2 separate regions of the Homo sapiens genome follow, and region 2 is linked to region 1. The links are contacts of gene promoters, found by promoter capture Hi-C in human tissues and cell types (Jung and others, 2019). All regions are on one chromosome and are shown on one strand. The core of a region is centred on a gene start or on the middle of the fragment in contact, and the rest is flanking DNA. Distances in the headings are between cores, read along the strand shown.

Evidence for each region. Contacts are between HindIII fragments. The study calls those that stand out against the background at their distance.
Region 2: a fragment that was not itself captured here is called in contact with the fragment with the promoter of OR4N4 in region 1 in 4 of the 25 tissues and cell types used here (lymphoblastoid cells, pancreas, small bowel and 1 more).

What each region holds. Positions count from the first base shown.
Region 1 is chr15:22,093,211-22,097,429 of GRCh38, reverse strand. OR4N4 (olfactory receptor family 4 subfamily N member 4) reads right to left here and starts at 2,908. Exons shown (of 1, transcript NM_001005241.4): 1 at 1,568-2,908. The coding sequence starts at 2,908. The coding sequence ends at 1,958. It overlaps OR4M2-OT1 (OR4M2 overlapping transcript 1), which reads right to left. Exons shown (of 9, transcript NR_110480.2): 8 at 2,639-2,917; 9 at 1,812-2,079. RefSeq lists an enhancer at 2,081-3,280. The HindIII fragment of the contact is 10,782 bases long and covers 1-4,219 here.
Region 2 is chr15:22,215,551-22,219,994 of GRCh38, reverse strand. No RefSeq gene overlaps it. Among named protein-coding and RNA genes, the nearest start is that of MIR1268A, 7.6 kb to the left of the region's middle. The HindIII fragment of the contact is 7,776 bases long and covers 1-4,444 here.

The sequences.
Region 1 (4,219 bases), core at 1,659-4,158:
CATATCAAAATATGTAGCAGATATCAAGATTTAATACATCTTTTTATTTTCATTTTCTTTGTCAAACTTCAATGGCCTTTCTCACCTCCAAGATTGCAAACTTTTTATCCTATATTTTACCACCATTTTTGTTTGCTTTCTGAAGAAGCTGTCAACACACAGACAGGTTTGTCAAAGACTTTTGCCACTACCATTACAGATTCTATCAAATATACTCATACAAAATTTAATTTAGAAAAAATAATTAGAGAGACAATAACATGAGAGGTGCTCTCTACAATTCTCTTCATGCCAGACCATGGCTGATTGATGTGTTCCCTGAGCCAAGAGCTGGGAAAGTGGTTTCTTGTCCTCTCAGTCTCCTGGTTATGGCAGGGATAGGTCACTTAGCAGGTTAGTTCTACAGTGTTTTTCTGGTAACAATTTCTATAATAGATGCCCAGCATAAATAATGGTCTTCTATACTTGAAAAATTTTATAAGTACCTAATTTCTCACATTAGACCCCACTATTAATACAGGAGTTATTAAGAAATTATTTTTAGGCAGCTAGAAAGGGTAAAAGAGTCCTCAGAAAGGCTTTTCCTTTTAATAAAAAAGCAGCCCCCAAACCATTTCTTTTCTAACAGAAAGCAGCCTGAAAAGCCATGCTGGAAGCATAGGTATGTAAATTACAGGCTTGCAGAAGTAAATGCAGGTGGCTAACAGCCAGGTCCACTCAATATGACTCTTCCCGCTCACTTTCCTTTGTTGCCACATGTGCAGTTGTCATGGCACCAGCCAAGTAAAGCCACATGTGCAGGCATCATGGTGACAGCCAGGTAGAAGCCGCATTTGCAGAATAAAAGATTAGGGTGGGAGGGCCAGTCTTTTCATGGGTTGTGTGAATGACACACCTGGTCAAAGGAATCCCCTGGGCCCTATGCAAATCAGACACTACCTCCCTGAGCCTCCCAATATAACTGACTGCTTTCCCCACAAGTGGGGTTACTCCATTCAGAGTGCTTCTCCCTCTGTATGGGGAAGCTCTTCTCTTCCTTCTTGCCTAATAAACTTTCTGTTCCTTAACCCACTCCGTGTGTGAGTCTGTGTCATTAATCGGCACAGCACAAGACAACGAACTGCAGGTATTTCCCCAGACAACGAAGCTGCTTCACTATGTTGAAAATAACTGGAGTGATTTATGTAATCTGTAATACAATCTGAAGTACTAAATATCTAATAATGTCTAATAATCATCGTGAAGCTCTGAAGAAAAAATAAGTGAAATAATTTCATGACATTTTACCATGAAACAAATTGGCTTCCTTTCTTATCTCGCCACCAAATTTTGGGGGGGAAATATATATTTATTTATATATTGATTAAATATATAAAAATATATATTTATAAATATATAAAAATATATATTTATAAATATATAAAAATATATTACTTATTTTATATATATGTAAATATACATATATATAAAATATATATAAAAACATTAAAATATATATAATTTTAATATATTTATATATATAAAATACTATAGTCTTTTTCATAACATACTTGCAACATACATTTGGTTTTTGATATTTTACAGTTTATTAATCTCTGCCTAAAATCTTGCTGATGTTGCTCTAACCAGTAGAGGAAAGCATTGTAGATGAACTGCTCCTTTGCTTAAAACATTAAAATGGGTTCTTACCACAATTAAAATATGAAAAAATTCTTACCTCAGACCGAAAGACCCTTGCAGTCACATAAAACTTAACCCTTAAATTTCTCACACTTACTCATTATACTTCAACCACTCTGGGGTTTCCTTTATATTCTTTAAATATAATAAGTTTATTCTCTCATTATGCATAACTCTCCTCCATTGCCTACAATGGTACCTGGCAAATGGGAGGTACTCAGTGAAAAACAGGACTTGTTAAATGAATGATATGAATTCCAGCCAGAATTCCTCCTTCTCAGTTTCTTATTATAAAATCCACTTGACAGACTACATGTCGACTCAATAACCTCTTCATGGAAGTTTTCACTTCCTGGTTGCGAAGGGTATAAATCATAGGATTCATCAATGGAAAGATCACTGTGTGAAAGAGAGAAACCATCTTGTCAGCTGGTAAGGCCCTGAAAGGGCACATGTAGATGAAGATAGCAGGTCCAAACATAAGAAGTATAATAATGACACGAGTGGTGCACGTGGACATGGCCTTGTTCTTCCCTTCAGAAGCTGCCCTACGAACATGGCAGAGGATGACTGCATAGGAAGCCAGAAGCCCCAGAAAGCACAGGAGTGTCATCAGGCCACTGTTGAAGACCATTAGAAGCTCCACCACAAACATGTCGGTGCAAGCCAGCTTGATGACCTGTCGGACATCACAGAAGAAGTTGTCCAGCTGGTTTGGGCCACAAAAAGGCAAGCGGAGGATGAGGACCACCTGGATAATGGAGTGGACAAAACCCCCAAGCCACAGAGCCAACATCATTGCATAGCAGGCTCTAGGGTTCATGACAGTTGAACAGTGCAGAGGCCGGCAGATGGCGATGTAGCGGTCAAAGGCCATCACAACAAGGAGTAATCCCTCCCCTCCTCCAAGGAAGTGCAAGAAAAAGAGCTGAGTGATGCAGCCTCTGTAGGAGATTACCTTTTTCTCAGAGAGGAAGTCCACCAACATCCTGGGAGCCACAATGAAGGAGTAGGATGCATCCAGGAAGGCCAAGTTGCCCAGAAATAAATAGAGGGGGGCTGTGAGCCCAGGGTCTGACCTTATGGTGAAAATAATGAGAAAATTTCCAGGGAGGATGATAAGGTAGAAAATTAAGATCAGCACAAAGACCAAGAGCTGAATATCTTGAGACTGAGTCAGACCAAGGAGGATAAATTCTGTCACTACTGTGTTGTTTGCTATCTTCATTTCTTCTGCCTGTAGAATATCAATAAAAGAGTTTATTTTCAGGTGTTACATCTAGATTATAGTTCTTGAACTAAACACAAGGTATGCCACATTTATATTATTCTATCTATCTCAACAACCTAAGAAATCACTTCTACTGTTTATGCTTCCTCATTTCATGATAGCCAACACCCTGGTCCTGAAGCCACACTCTTTCTTCTGTTTCAGTCCTGTGCTTCTGTTTAAGTGTTCACTCATGTGAGACTTGGATGTTACTGCTCTGAATTTGTTCCTGATTTGTATGAGGCATATGAAAATTTTTCTGACTGAGAAAAAACTTAACCCCAGTTATTGAGGACTTCATGTTTTGCTTTGAATGGAAGATGAGCTGGGATTGACAGCAAAGAAGAATGACAGAACTTTTCAAGGGGACAGAAATGTTCCGTTTTTAATTATAATGGTTATATGTATCTATTTTTGTCAAAATTTATTGAGTATTGAACTATACAGCAATTAGTACAATTTATTTTATATAAATGCTACCTTAGGAATGTTTATCTAAAAACTTTTATAAAGGCAACTGTACTTACCAGAAATAATTCCCTTTTCTCTATAGAACATCAACCAAATGAACTGGTCTAAATAAAAAGCTCTCAGTCACTCTGGAGAAAACAAGATCTGAGGCTTCTCTGTACAGTGGCTTCCAAATTGAGACTGTGCTCATGCTTGGGGATGTGCATGATAATTTATTGGTATGAAAGCAATAATAGGAGAATTTCTACACTTACATTATTGTATCCTATTGTTTGAAGTTTTATTTTTGAACATTTTACATTTATATAGAATCATGATGTAATTGGATATGAAATGCATAAAGAAGATACGTATGTTTTTGGTGCATGTTCAAAAAATGGTTTGTGGTTGAAATAAAAAAATTTAAAAGCTAAAGATCTTGAGCTAGAACAAAATACTACAATGTGATACAGAAAAATATTTCATATGCTTCTGTTACACAGCACATTTGTTTTAAAATAATGTGGACTATGAAGCGTAGAGGGAAAGAGGTTCATTAACTAACTGAATGAGGAGTCGGTGTGTAAGAAGAGAGGGAAACAAAAACAATAAAGTCCCGAATTAAGAAATCAAAGAAAATATTTATAATGGCACATCTATTTAAAACATCAAAAGATATGCTTTTCAAAATATATCTAATCCTAATATATTAATTAATAGCAGAGGTTTTCAGGTATGGTCAGAATTGGGAATTATGAAAGAAGTACCTAGGCCAGGCACTGTGGCCCACACCTGTAATCCCACCCTTTTTGGAGGCCA
Region 2 (4,444 bases), core at 1,416-3,915, 120 kb before region 1:
CTGTTTTATAACAGGTTTGAAAATTTGTTTTTCTTTTTTTCTTTTTTTTTTTTTTTTTGAGACAGACTTTTGCTCTTGTTGCCCAGGCCGGAGTGCGATGGCAAGATCTCGGCTCACTGCAGCCTCTGCCTTCTGGGTTCAAGTGATTCTCCTGCCTCAGCCTCCCAAGTAGCTGGGATTACAGACACCTGCCACCACGCCTGGCTAATTTTGTATTCTTAGTAGAGATGGGGGTTTCTCCATGCTGGCCAGGCTGGTCTCAAACTCCCGAACTCAGGTGATCCACCCGCCTTGGCCTCCCAAAGTGCTGTGATGACAGGCGTGAGCCCCTGTGCCCAGCCAGGGGGTGGCTGTTTTATAATAGGTTTGCAAGTTTGTTTTTCTTTTTGTTTTGTTTTGTTTTTTTGAGACAGAGTTTTGCTCTTATTGCCCAGGCCAGAGTGCAATGGCACAACCTTGGCTCACTGCAACCTCTGCCTCCTGGGTTCAAGCGATTCTCCTGCCTCAGCCTCCCGAGTAGCTGGGATTACAGGCACCAACCACCACGCCCAGCTAATATTTCATATTTTTAGTAGAGACGAGGTTTCCCCATGTTGGCCAGGCTGGTCTCGAACTCCTGACCTAGGTGATACGCCTGCCTCGGTCTCCCAAAGTGCTGAGATGACAGGTGTGAGCCACTGCACCCGGCCCTGAGATAAGCATTGTTAAGATTTGGTTGTCCGGGTGCAGTGGCTCAAGCCTGTAATCCCAGCACTTTGGGAGGCCGAGGCGGGCGGATCACGAGGTCAGGAGATGGAGACCATCCTGGCTAACGCAGTGAAACTCTGTCTCTACTAAAAATACAAAAATTTAGCCGGGCGTGGTGGCAGGCACCTGTAGTCCCAGCTACTCAGGAAGCTGAGGCAGGAGAATGGCGTGAACCTGGGATGTGGAGGTTGCAGTGAGCCAAGATTGTGCCACTGCACTCCAGCCTGGGTGACAGGGCAAGACTCCATCTCAAAAAAAAAAAAAAAAAAGATTTGGTTATGTTCCTGCAGTCCTATATGGGGCTAGAAGAATATCACCAAATATCACCAAAATGTATAAGTATACACACATGCACACACACATTTGTGAGTGTGTGTAGGCACGCATGCATGGATAATAGATATACCTGTGTATGTCTGTATATAGACATTTGTGTTTCTCAAAATTGTATCAAAACTGGATTCATGGCCAGGCACAATGGCTCACGCCTGTCATCCCAGCACTTTGAGAGGCCCAGGCAGGGGGATCACCTGAGGTCAGGAGTTCGAGACCAACCTGGCCAATGTGGTAAAACCCCGTCTCTACTAAAATACAGAAATTAGCCAGGCATGGTGGTGCATGCCTGTAATCCCAGCTACTCGGGAGGCTGAGGCAGGAGAAACGCTTGAATCTGGGCGGCGGAGATTGCGGTGAGCCAAGATTGCACCACTGCACTCCAGCCTGGGCAACAAGCGAAATTCTGTCTTAGGAAAAAAAATTCATATTATGTATATTGTTTTCTAAACTTTTTTTTTTTTTTTTTAGACGGAGTCTTGCTCTGTCACCCAGGCTGGAATGCAGTGGCGCAATCTCAGCTCACTGCAACCTCTGCCTCCCGAGTTGAAGCGATTCTCCTGCCTCAGCCTCCTGAGTAGCTGGGATTACGGGCATGTACCACCATGCCCTGCTAATTTTTTTGTATCTTTAGTAGAGATGGGGTTTCTCCATGTTGGTCATGCTGGTCTCAAACTTCTGACTGCAGGTGATTCACCCACCTTGGCCTCCCAAAGTGCTGGGATTACAGGTGTGAGCCACCGTGCCTGGCCTGTAAACGTTTAATTTTTCGAGGCACGTTTCTGCTGTGTTGCCCAGGCTAGATAGTGCAGTGGTGTGATCACAGCTCACTTTAGCCTCTACCACCTGGGCTCAAGCAATCCTCCCACCTCTGCCTCCTAAATAGCTGGGACTACAGGCGTCCACCACCACACCTGTGCGTGTGTGTGCATGTGTGTGTGTGTGTGTGTGCCTTTTTTTCATGGAGACAGAGTCTCTGAGCCTATGCTCTGCAGGCTGGTCTCAAACTCCTGGACTCAAGCAGCCCTCCCCACTTGGCCTCCCAAAGTGCTGGATTCCAGTGGCGAAAACCCATCTCTACTAAAAAAAACACCCCAATCGGGCTTGCAAAGTGCTGGATTCCAGGCATAAGACTGCACCCGGCCTGTTTTGTGAGATTTTTAACTTAAAATCTACCCTGTGCCAAGCACTTTGGGAGGCCAAATGGGGAGGGCTGCTTGAGCCCAGGAGTTCAAGACCAGCCTGGGCAACATAGTGAGACCCTATCTCTTAAAAAAAAAATTAGCTGGGCGTGGGACCTGTGGTCCTGGCTACACAGGAAGCTGAGGTGAGAAGATCACTCGAGCCCAGAAGGTGGAGGCTGCAGTGAGCTGAGATTGCACCACCACGCTCCAGCCTGGGAGGCAGAGTGAGACCCGGTCTCAGAAAAAAACAAAAAGCAAACCAAACCGTATGCTGAATGTGCACTGTGTTGGCTGCACAGAATGGGGTGAGATGTGTGTCTCTCGTATTGTATTTGATCCATATGTCCGTGGGGCTCCTACGTGTGGGTAAGGCTGTGAGTGTCACCTGGTGGGGACTAATTCCTGGTCATCCCTGGTGCTTTTTGTAAAGAAAGTGAGTTGCAGCCTGGCTGTGGTCCTGCTGGTTGTAGCAGACAGATCCATACAGTGCAGACGCGATGGTAATTTTGGTTTCATCATTCACGAGAAGCTTTATTTATTTATTTATTTTTTGAGATGGATCCTCGCCGTGTCACCCAGGCTGGAGTGCAGTGGTATGATCTCGGCTAACTACAACCTCCACCTGTCGGGTTCAAGCCATTCTCCTGCCTCAGTCTCTGGAGTAGCTGGGATTACAGGTGCCTGCCATCATGCCTGGCTAATTTTTGTATTTTTAGTAGAGACAGAGTTTCACCATGTTGGCCAGGCTGGTCTCGAACTCCCGAGCTCAGGTGATCCACCTGCCTCGGCGTCACCAAGTGCTGGGATTACAGGCGTGAGCCACCACACCCAGCCCGTGAGAAACTTTAAGTCAGTGCAGTGGCACGCGGATGGTGCAGGGCCGCAGGCTTCACCTTCCTTTTGGGTCTGAAGTGACTGCCTCGCTGTTTGGGGTCAGAAATAGCTGTGTGTAGGGGCAGGTGTGAGCTGTGTCTTGTGTGTCCCACAGAAGTGACCCTCATCATGATGGTGTGGTACTGGCATTCTTGTCCGTAGACTGACAAGGATTCTTTTTTTCTTTTTTCTTTTTTGGAGACAGAGTCTTGCTCTGCCACCCAGGCTGGAGTGCAGTGTCGCGATCTCGACTCACTGCAAGCTCCACCTCCTGGGTTCAAGTGATTCTCCTGCATCAGCCTCCCGAGTAGCTGGGACTACAGGTATGTGCCACTACACCCGGCTACTACTTTTTGTACTTTTAGTAGAGATGGGGTTTCAGCATGTTGGCCAGGCTGGTCTCGAACTCCTGACCTCAGGTGATCCACCCGCCTCAGCCTCCCAAAGTGCCGGGATGACAGGCGTGAGCCACCTCGCCTGGCCCTGGATTCTGTTTCTTAAACTGCAGGGAATACTAAATACTTTACATGTGTATGTTTCTCATTTCATTTTCCTAAAGGAATTGGAGAGTGAGTTGTTGAGATTCTTTTCATTTTATTTTTTATTCTCTATGGTCCTCATCATGCAAATGGCTAAATGGTTTTTTTTTTTTTTTTTTTGAAACAGGGTCTTGCTCTGTCACCCAGGCTGGAGTGCAGTGGTGCGGTCTCGGCTCACTGCAACCTCTGCCTCCCGGGTTCAAGCGATTCTCCTGCCTCAGCCTTCCTAGTAGCTGGGATTACAGGTGTGCACCACCGTGTCCGTCTGATGGTTAAATTTTTCCTAGAGATGAGGTTTTGCCATGTTGCCCAGGCTGGTCTCAAACTCCTGAGCTCAGGTGATCCCCCCACCTGGGCCTCCCAAGGCGCTGGGGTTCCAGGTGTGCAGAGGGCTCTTTGTCTACACGCATCACTGGATTTTCTACCCACGGGGACAGGAGTGTGACCACAGCGAGGTGGTCAGGGAGTTGTCACCGGCGGGCACTGCAGCCCAGAGATGATGATGGCTCTAGGAGTTTGGTTGTGGAGCACAGATGCCAGCGGTGTGGGCACGTGGCCCTGCACCTGTGTTTCTCCTGCACAGGCCCCAGAACCCCAGGATGGGATCTCTGTGCAGTGACGAAGTCAGTGGCCTCTTGGTGAGGCTGAGGGATGGGAGTCGGCAGAATCCAGGCTGGGCCCCCGAGGCCTGGCTCCCTCACTGCATCCCTGAGGTCCCACAGCCTGGTGACAGCATGACTGAAGACCACACTCCAGTCAGGTGGCCAG